Linked DNA regions of Homo sapiens: regions 1 and 3 are each linked to region 2. Evidence: promoter capture Hi-C in human tissues and cell types (Jung and others, 2019). All regions are on one chromosome and are shown on one strand. Each heading gives the region's core, a stretch centred on a gene start or on the middle of the fragment in contact. The rest is flanking DNA. Distances are from core to core; before and after follow the strand shown. Region 1 has its middle 41 kb from the start of IDNK. Region 2 holds the start of FRMD3 (FERM domain containing 3). Region 3 overlaps FRMD3 (FERM domain containing 3).

Region 1 (3,379 bases), core at 827-3,326, 43 kb before region 2:
GCAAGGCCAGAGAGGCAGGAGGAAAACCAGGATCAGGTGGGTTCAGGGAAGACAAGAAAGAGTTTCCACTGGCTGCAGTGGCTCATGTTTGTAATTTCAGCACTTCAGAGGCAGGAAGATTACCTCAGCCCAGGAGTTTGAGAGCAGCCTGGGCAACATAGTGAGACCCCATCTCTACAAAAAATACAAAAATCAGCTGGCCGTGGTGGCATGCACCTGTAGTCCCAGCTACTTGGGAGGCTGAGGTGGGAGGATTGCTTGAGCCTGGGATGTCGAGGCTGCAGTGAGCCATGATTGGGCCACCACACTCCGGCCTGGGCTACAGAGTGAGACCCTGTCTCAAAAATTTTTTTTTCAACAAGGGATTGTATCTAATGCAAGGGATTATATCTAATTTAGATTATATCTAAAGCAAGATGTAAATTGAAGTGTGTCTGATGGATCTGGTAATGTAATTTTAATTATACTTTGAGTAAAATGGTAAATATGTACTTTCCTTTGGAAAAAATATAATAGAAATGTGGCTAGTACGGTATTGTGAGAAAATGGGGCTGGCAGGGGGAAGGCTTTTGCATTACAAATTGCTGATGGTATTGCTAGAAAGGGCTTCTACCCCTCCCTCTGCTGGCAGGAATGGGACATGTCTGGTTCTATGTTGAGGGGAATCAAGTGTGAGTAGCGAGATGTTCTTAACACTGAAGTTTTCCAAAATGAAATGTAGTCAGCATGTTATTTTTTTGAAGCAACTTAAATTTTTACCAGGACAAATTTTTGTGCAGAAAAGCCAGTAAAAATAAGAAATAATAGTTTCTCTAAAGCGAATTCTCAAAAATAGAAGAGATTGGAAAGCTATGGAATAATTTGGGATGGAAAATATTACTCTTGGCTCTGGAAATGAGTTGTAAGTCATGGTTGGTGAAGATCTTAAATATCATCTGGAGAGGACTTGTGTTTAGTGGAATAAGTTCAGTTTTTAAAACATTGATTCATTATGAGTGAGACGTGCTCCATGTTCAAGAGGCTATAGGCTTATCGATCCCAAATTGCAACGTCTCTTACAACTTGAAACTGATTATCTGGATCTGTTTGAAAAATTTCCCCAGGTGCTTCATTAATTGTACCTGATCTCAAATCTAGGCCAAAAATGGTACTTCAATTTGAGAACAGAGTCACTGACACCATAAATAATGTTTGGGAACCTCTCCAAATGCTAATTCCAGGGCTTTGAAGTAAAAATATAGCATCTCACCAATATTTCATTTTTCTTCTAAATTTGCATTAAACTTATTACCAAGGACATACAAAGTGAGTAACTTTTTGTTATGTTTTTGCTTGTTTAGGTTAACAGATTCTGCTATGGAGAGTTTTATACCTCATCCAAGATTGTAGTTAGAGCACACTGTTGTATGTGCAAGTTGGTGATTTGAAATTATTCCAATATAATGGGAGTTACTACCTTTTCTTACCCCAAGAATTTAAAATAAAAAGACCACTCTTTATTAAATTATCCACAGTAAAACAGATACTAGGTTCCCTAATAAATCAAGTTTAAGAGCAAATATACTCTAAATCCTTTTAAACTAAATAGTATCACTTTAATGAACTAAATTTAAGAATTGGAAGTTCTCTTGAAAATCCACTGAATATCTTTTCACTAAACCTGGAATTCTTCCAATTGCAACATTTTCTGATCTGGGTATTTCTCAAGACTTGATTAAGATATTGCTTTTCGGCTGGATGCAGTGACTCATACCTGCAATCCCAGGGCTTTGGGAGGTTGAGGTGGGAGGATCACTTGAGCCCAGGAGTTCCAGTCTTTATGGGCTATGATTGTGCCACTGTACTCCAGCTGGGGTGACAGAGTGAGATCCTGTCTCTAAAGAAAAAAAAAGAGATTACTTTTTATTACTTATGACAACCTTTTGAGGTATAATTCTTATATCATACAATTAACAGTGTATAATTCAATGGTTTTAGTATATTCACAGAGTTACGCAAGCATCGCTGCCATCAAGTTTAGAACATTTTCATCATTCTAACATGAAACCATGTACCCATCACTCCCCATTTCTCCCCAACCACTCTGCCGGCTATTTTGGACATTTCACATAAAAGAATTCATACACTATGTGGTCTTTTGGGATTAATTTCTTTCACTTAGCATAACTACACACTTCATTTTTTTATTGCAAAATAATATGCTATTGTATGAATATGCCACATTTTATTTATTCATTAATCCGCTGACGAACATTTGGGTTGTTTCCACTTTTTGTGTGTGGCTATTTTGAATGCTTCTATGAACATTTGTATACAAATTTTTGTGTGGACATACATTTTTGCTTTTGTTGGACATATACCTAGGAATGGAATTATTGAATCATATGGTAAGTCTGTGTTTAACCTTTTGGGGAAGTGCCACACATTTTCTCAAAGCAGCCACACCATTTTACATTCCCATCAACAGTGTATTAGGGTTCCAATCACTCCACATCCTTGACAATACTTGTTATTATCTGCCTGATTATAGCCTTCCCAGTGGATGTGAAGTGGATCTTGTGGTTTTGATTTGCATTTCCTCAATGATTACGGAAGTTGAGCATCTCTTCATGTGCTTATTGGTCATTTGTGTATCTTTGGAGGACTGTCTATTCAAATCCTTTGCCTGTTTTAAAACTGGGTTGCCCTTTTATTATTGAGTTGTAAGAGTTCTTTATATACTTGGTATACAATTTCCTTAACGGGGTGTAATTTGCAAATATTTTCTCCCATTCTGTGGGTTTTTTTCACTTTTTGGATGGTGTTCACTGAAGCACAAAAGTTAAATTGTTTTAGCATTTTAAAATTTATTTTATTTATTTAACATTTCATCTTTAAAAAGTAAACCTTTAATATGAAAATTTTCAAACAAACATGAGACAATATAATGAATCTCCTTGTTTTTAGCACCCAGCCTCAACAATTTGCTGTTCTTGTTTGATCTAGCCTCCCTCTCCACAACACTTTTATTTTCCATTATGCTTTGTTTTCTTCTGAAGTTTTTTTCATTTAAAAAAATTAGTATTATTTTTAATTGACAAATCATAACTGTATACATTCATGGGGTACATTGTGGTATTTTGATATATGTATATAATGTGAAATGATTAAATCAAACTAGTTAACATAACCATCACCTTACTTGATATTTTTTGTGGCAATACATTTGAGATTTCTTCCCTTGGTTATTTTGAAGTATACGTTATTGACTGTAGTCACTCTTCTGTGTAGTAGATCTCAAAACTTATTGTTCCTGTCTAGCTGAAACTTTGTACCCTTTGGCCAATAATTCCCCGTTCATTCTCTTGATCCCCATACTCCCAGGTTCTGGTGCCATCAT
Region 2 (3,195 bases), core at 391-2,890:
GAAATGGAGAGACTTTTCAAAGATCCCCAGGATTAGCCAGTAGCTGGGCCAAGAATGAAATCCACATCTTCCCATACCCTCAATACTGACCTCTCCATCAGGATCTGCCCTAACATTTGAAGGGCCCAGCTCAAGAGCCTACATGAATGCCCCATACTATCATCTAAATATTCATAAGCAATAGTCAGCTATTGAGTGCTACATAAAACATTCTCTATCCTCCTATCTTGACAAATTGTTGCAATTTGGAATTTCCAGGAGCAGATACTGAGACTGAGTTTGTCCTGTGTGGTATTTATTAGTGATCAACAGGGAGAGGAGGCAGGAGCAGGCAGAGAGAGAAGTCCAAATGCAATGCGGACTCCCCCAAACCTTAGCCAACCCCACTAGGTGTCCTAGAGAATATATGGCCCACCAGACTGTCCAGGGCAGGTAAAATTTGTGTGCCACTCTTCCTCGACCCCCAGGACAGGGCATATCTTTGGATGAGGGGACTCTATGCAGGCACAAACCTTGAAAAAGCTGACAGCTGGTCAACACCTCCTCTTCTAACAAATGTTCCTTCCTAATGACCTGTTCTGCTCCGGCAAGAGCAACAGGGTGAGAGGACTTCCATCTCTCCCAGCTCCTGGACATTCTAGTGCTCACATTCAAGCTCCATACCCCTGACTCAACAGCTGCTCCTGGCCACTCTCGGGCCTACGGTACCTGACACAGTGGCTCTAGCCACCTTGGGGACAACAGAGAGGCAGGATACCTCCTACCTTCAACACCCTGGAGGCGCGTGGGGAATTCCAGAGTCCTCAATACCCAGAGATTGGACTAAAACGGGATGGGGCACATCCGCTTTGCCATTAGACCTCTTAATTCCTGAGCAACCGGGAACTGGAGGAGGTCTGTAAAGCAGGGGAGTAGGATAGGAACCTATCCCTCTTGCTCGGGTCAAAGGTATGCTATCAAAGATCACACTAAGATGTTGGGAGATTTAAAGGAGGATTTGCACATGGAAGGCTCTTTTTTGGAGAAAGAGACTGAGTCCTAGCTAGCATTAAATAAAACAATGGCTTAAACAATCTCCATGAGTACCAGAGATTTTTACTATTAGCGATATTCCTGGTGTAGCCGTGTCAGGGCTGTCACTCTCTCTGTCACTCGCCCTGGGCCCAGCAATCCTTTCCCGAGGCGGAATCCCCCTGGCGGTGTGGGTCAGGATCGCTCTCCGTCCCCTACCCGCGCCAGGTCCCTGGAGCTGAGCAGAGCAGGGCGCTGTCGAGCGCGTTGGGGAGCCGGGGCCGGGACGAGCACAACCGGGAGCCCGAGCGACAGCGGCCAGGGGAGGGAGGAGGCGGTGAGGCTGAGGAAGGCAGTCGGGCCCAGCTTGACGCAGCGGCGGCTGCGACTGAGCAGGCCACCACCAGGGCACCCGGGCCAGCCGCGCCAGCCATCCCTCCGCCTCCTCCTTCAGCTGCTCGGCGCGCGTGGGAGTGAGTGCGTCGCGAGCCCGCCGGGGGTCTCAGGCTCTGGGCGTCCTCGGCGAGCGAGCCCGGGCAGAGGGAGGCGCACGAGCGCGCGCGACAGAAGGAGGCGGGGAAAGGAGGGGGCGAGGCGGAGGCGAGCGAACAGAGGGAGGGACCCGCCCGCCGCGCCCCGGCCGCTGGGCATGTGTGTCCGCAGGCGCCCGACGCTGCCGATGTCCCGGGGCTGAGCCGCGCCCAGGTGTCCCGGACAGTGCGTGCGAGCGTGTGTGTCCGCGCAGGCGAGCACCGCGCCGGCCCTGAGCCTCCCGCTCGCTCCCCACGGCCGCGGTGCATGTTCGCCTCCTGCCACTGTGTGCCGAGAGGCAGGAGGACCATGAAAATGATCCACTTTCGGAGCTCCAGCGTCAAATCGCTCAGCCAGGAGATGAGATGCACCATCCGGCTGCTGGACGACTCGGAGATCTCCTGCCACATCCAGGTGCGCGTGGAACCGGGCGAGGGCGCGGGGCACACGCCGGGAGCAGGGCGGGGGGCCTTTGCGGTGGGCATGCGAGAACAAGGAACCCACTCCCGGAGGGGATTGGGGGACTGCTAGAAAGCCAGATTTCGATTCCTCAGGCCTCTGAGGGTGGGGGGCCTTATCCTGGCATGGAGGGGCATGGTGCCCTGCAAGCGCCAGGCACGCGTTATCCGCGCCCAGTCTCCTTCCCCTCGCGTGCACCCTGCGCGCGCGTCTCACTGCGCCCGGGCTAGGGGCGCGGGGCAGCTGCCTCCGGAGGGACTCTGGCCCCTCTGGGCCCTACTCCGCCAGGAGATGGGAGCTCCGAGGGCTGAGAGGGGCACCTGCATGTCGCCCACTGGTATTTCCTCCCTTCTTCCACGTGGAGAAGGCATGCATCAGCTGGGTTCACTCATTTCTGTCTCCCGCGCCCAGGCTCCGGAGACGCCCTCAGTCCCGGAACCTGCTTTCCGCTCCGTGTCGGTCCCCCTCACCCTCCGCCGGTGGTCTTTAGTTCTCCGCGTGGGGCGGTGGCGAAGTTTCCCCAGAGTGAGAGAGGCCGGGCTGCCCTGGGCGCCAGCCTTGAGGGATGGAGCGCGCGCTGCGCCGGACTGGAGCTACCTCGAAAGGAATGTGTGAAGTCTGAGTGTTTCGGAGAAAGGAAAAGGGATTGTGAGGCCAGCAAGTGGGGAGCCCTGCAGGAACCTGGGTCCTGGGTAAAAGAGCCCCGTGGAATCTTGGTGGACATTCACTGTCGCCCAAGTTGGAGGAGAAGGCGAGTTGTTTGGGAGAAGGCAGCTTTGCTGGCAGCCCTGTCCTCGGGTAGTAAGTGCCTCTGGGCTGTCAGGAGAGCTAGTGTGAGGTGCAAAGGTGTGTGTGTGCATGTGGTTGCGCGTGCGTGTGCATATTTGCTGTGGGTGAATATGTAGGCAGGTGGGAGCCCCTCTTCCAGGACCCCAAAGATGCCCCACTCGGTGCGCACACAATCAGGAAAGGTTGTGTCAGGGCTCAGCACAATTAACTTCTGACTTCTAAATCTATTTAACTGTTTATCTCTGGGATTTCCTTTCTCACCTACCCTAGTCGAGTCTTGAGGCTCTGGGACTGAGCTTTTTTTTTTTTTTTTTTTTTTTAGTGTAATACAGGGCACACCACCCATGTCAGTGGGAGGTGAGTGGGGCAGCATCTCCCAGAGTAGGAATCAGCCTCTAGGCTGTG
Region 3 (3,074 bases), core at 145-2,644, 35 kb after region 2:
ATCACAGGTGATGTGATGAGTTCTATGTAGAAAAATAAAGTTGAGTAAGGGGGATTAGAGGATGAAGAGGTAGGGAAGCGGTACTGTTCTTTATAGAGTGGTCAGGGAAGGTGTCCCTGATAAGGTGGTATTTGAGGAGAGGCCTGAAAGAAGTGGTGGGGGGGGAAGTCAAATGAATACCTGGGAGAAGAACATTTCAGAAAGAGAACAGATGTAAAGGTCTTGAGGCAGAAGGGAGCTTGGCGAGTGTGAGGAATGTGAGGGAGGAGGAGAGGACTGGGAAAGAAGCCAAGAGAGGGGGTGGCAGACAACCTGAGGGTCTTATAGGTCACTTGAAGAGCTTTGGAAGCCATTGGAAAGCTTTGGTAGAGAATGGCATGGTCTGTCTTGTGTTTTTAAAGAGGATCATGCACTTGCTCTGTTGAGAATAGGCCCTAGGGAGAGAAGAGCAAACACAGGGAGACCCATTAGGAGGTGAAAACTGTGCCCTTGGATAGTGAGAAGTTTTAGGAAGCCCAAGACCACTTGAATGTCTACAGTCATTGGTGGTGCTTTCCGTTTGTGTGAAAGTCAAGCTCAGGAGATGATAAGCACTGGCCTGGCCTTGAAGGGGAAGCTGGCAAGGGCTGATCCCTCTTCCTTTCCAAGGGCTATCACCACAGAGCAGTACAAACCCGAAGGCCATGTAGCATCTGGCTTCAGCAGCACTCAGTGCACACCCCAAACTGCAGCAGGATGCGGAGTGTATTCTCTTCCGTTACCACCTCCCCACTCCCGCCCTTGTCACCAGCTACAGAGCAGCTGGTTCCCCTGAGTTGCAGGAGAGTTCTAGCTAGTGTTAATCACACAGGACCTTCTCAAGCTATATCTTCCTTTTCCTTCTTGCACGAATGAGTTGTGCCTTTTCTGTCCATGATTTCAACTGTGGTGCTGCTTTCCTCAGGCTTCTCTGAATCTGGACTCATCTGGCCCACTTGGCTGGTGGAGATGTGGCCCTGGAGTGTTGGCCCTTCTGATCCAATGTCTAATTTACAGTGCTTCATGATCACCCTTTGGATTCTGCCTTGGTTATCTATTGCTGTGTAAGAAATGTCTGCGCACTCAGTGGCTTAAACCAACACCCACTTAGTTAGCTCTGTAGACCTAGACTGGTGTCTAGACCAGGATTCTGGGCAGGCTTGGCTGGGTTCTATACTCAGGGTATCACAAATCTGTACTCAAGGTGTCAGCAGAGCTGGGCTTTTCACTGAAAGCTGGGAGGCAGAATCTATTTCCAAGGTTGTTCAGGTTGGTGGTAGAATTCAGTTCTTTGCAGTTGTAGAACTGATGTCTCCATTTTCTTACTGGTTGTCAGCTTCTAGAGGTCACCACAGTCCTTATCACATGCCCCTCTCTAACATCAAGCCAGCAGCGATGCATGAAATCCGTCTTGTGCTTTGAATCTCTCTGAATTCTCTTCTGTCGTCAGCTGGAGAAAGCTCTCTGCTTTTAAGGACTATAGGGTATATGACCCACCAGGATAATGCAGATAATTTCCCTATCTGATGGCCAATTGTGCCATGTAACATAGCATAGTAACTGTGCCATGCAACATAGCACAATCATAGGATAGGTTCTGTCGTCATGTTGATAGGTTCTGGGGGTTAGGGCAGGACATCATTAAGGGGCCATTTTAGAAATTCTGCCCTTCCCAATAGTCTTTTGCAGCCAATATCAGTAGTATTAGCAGTACTACTGCTAATTACACTGTAGTAATTACCAAAGTAAATCAGTCATGAGGGCCTATCTTTGCCCTTATAGTAATTACTACAGTGTGCTTGTATTTCCAGAACCCCAGTTTCTCCTTTTCCAGAGAGGCAGTTGGCATTTTGAAGCCACATGGTGCACTGGAACCCAGCATAACCATCAGAAATCAGTGTTTAGTGTTTCTGTCTGACTCTGAATGGCAGAGGACAAAGGAAATGATGGCCTTTTATATCAATATATGATCATTAAAGCTTCTCATTAAAGCTAAAATTATGAGGGCCGAGATTTTCAAAGCATTTCTGTGGTTTGATTTGGAGTCCACTGAATCATGAAATTGGAGGTAACCTCTGCTGCCCTTTGCCTCTGCTTCTTCCCCTCACAGCAAGCTTCCGGGTACCATCCTGATTTGTCTGCCCACCTCTTCTGGAACACCTCACTTGACCTCTTCCATTCTTTAACAGGCCCATTTATTAAGAAATTCTTTCTTCTATTGGGCCCATGTAAGTTTCCTTCTGACTTTCGCACAGTGTACCTATTTATGGCTTATAGCTGTACCAAATAACTCATTTCTTTTCATAAAATATGGTGATTCAGATACTTAGAGGCAGATATCAAGTCTCAGAACATCTCTTCTACAAACTAAACTTTAGCTTTAGCAGGCACCTGGCACGTCACCTCTACTTCTGGTACTGGGAACATGCCTTTAGAATGTACCCTCCATCAAAAAGGCAGGAACCTTCTCTGTTGCACTCACCACTGTGTCCTTAGCTCCTAGCACACTACCCGGTACACAGCAGGGACCAGTGCATATTTATTAACTGGGATGCAATTGCCCTTTGGAACTGAATTCGAAGTGGCGCATGCTTAGGTATTTGCGTGTTCTCCCTAATTGGCACTGCCCAGTCTTGTGATCCACCCCAGGTCCATACCTAAAAACAGTTAATATTTTCTGTCTCACATTTGTTCCAGAACAAGACACATAACTAGATAAATAAAACAAGTTAATGATTCATGCACTTAAAGGAGTTGCTTCCATAAGTAACAAATTTTGGTGCTTGACTTAAATTGTACTTCATTTAGAGTTGCAGCAGAAAGGAGGAGGTAAATGCATTGCAGAGAAAAGAGGATATTAAACGTAGAGTTGGCTTTCCTTTTCCCTCTCTACTCAAATGCATGGAGTCACTTAATCAGATGCATCTCTTCATGTGAGCACTGGCTGCAGGGATGAAAATGAAGCCCTGCTAGCAATAAGAAATTCCTCTCAAGAACAAACAGGAGATGTGGTTGCCTTGCCGCTTGTTACATACCAATCATCTTGTTACCTAGAG

The links. The method cuts DNA at HindIII sites, captures the fragments that hold promoters and counts their contacts. A contact is called where the count stands out against the background at its distance.
Region 1: a contact is called between a fragment that was not itself captured here and the fragment with the promoter of FRMD3 in region 2, in 1 of the 25 tissues and cell types used here (neural progenitor cells).
Region 3: a fragment that was not itself captured here is called in contact with the fragment with the promoter of FRMD3 in region 2 in 1 of the 25 tissues and cell types used here (neural progenitor cells).

Annotation. Positions count from the first base shown.
Region 1 is chr9:83,580,589-83,583,967 of GRCh38, reverse strand. It overlaps a transcript of FRMD3 not described here. Among named protein-coding and RNA genes, the nearest start is that of IDNK, 41 kb to the left of the region's middle. The HindIII fragment of the contact is 4,095 bases long and covers 29-3,379 here.
Region 2 is chr9:83,536,846-83,540,040 of GRCh38, reverse strand. It overlaps FRMD3 (FERM domain containing 3), which reads left to right and starts at 1,640. Exons shown (of 14, transcript NM_174938.6): 1 at 1,640-1,956. The coding sequence starts at 1,810. The HindIII fragment of the contact is 11,978 bases long and covers 1-3,195 here.
Region 3 is chr9:83,501,689-83,504,762 of GRCh38, reverse strand. All of the region lies in intron 1 of FRMD3 (FERM domain containing 3), which reads left to right. Among named protein-coding and RNA genes, the nearest start is that of FRMD3, 35 kb to the left of the region's middle. The HindIII fragment of the contact is 4,434 bases long and covers 1-3,074 here.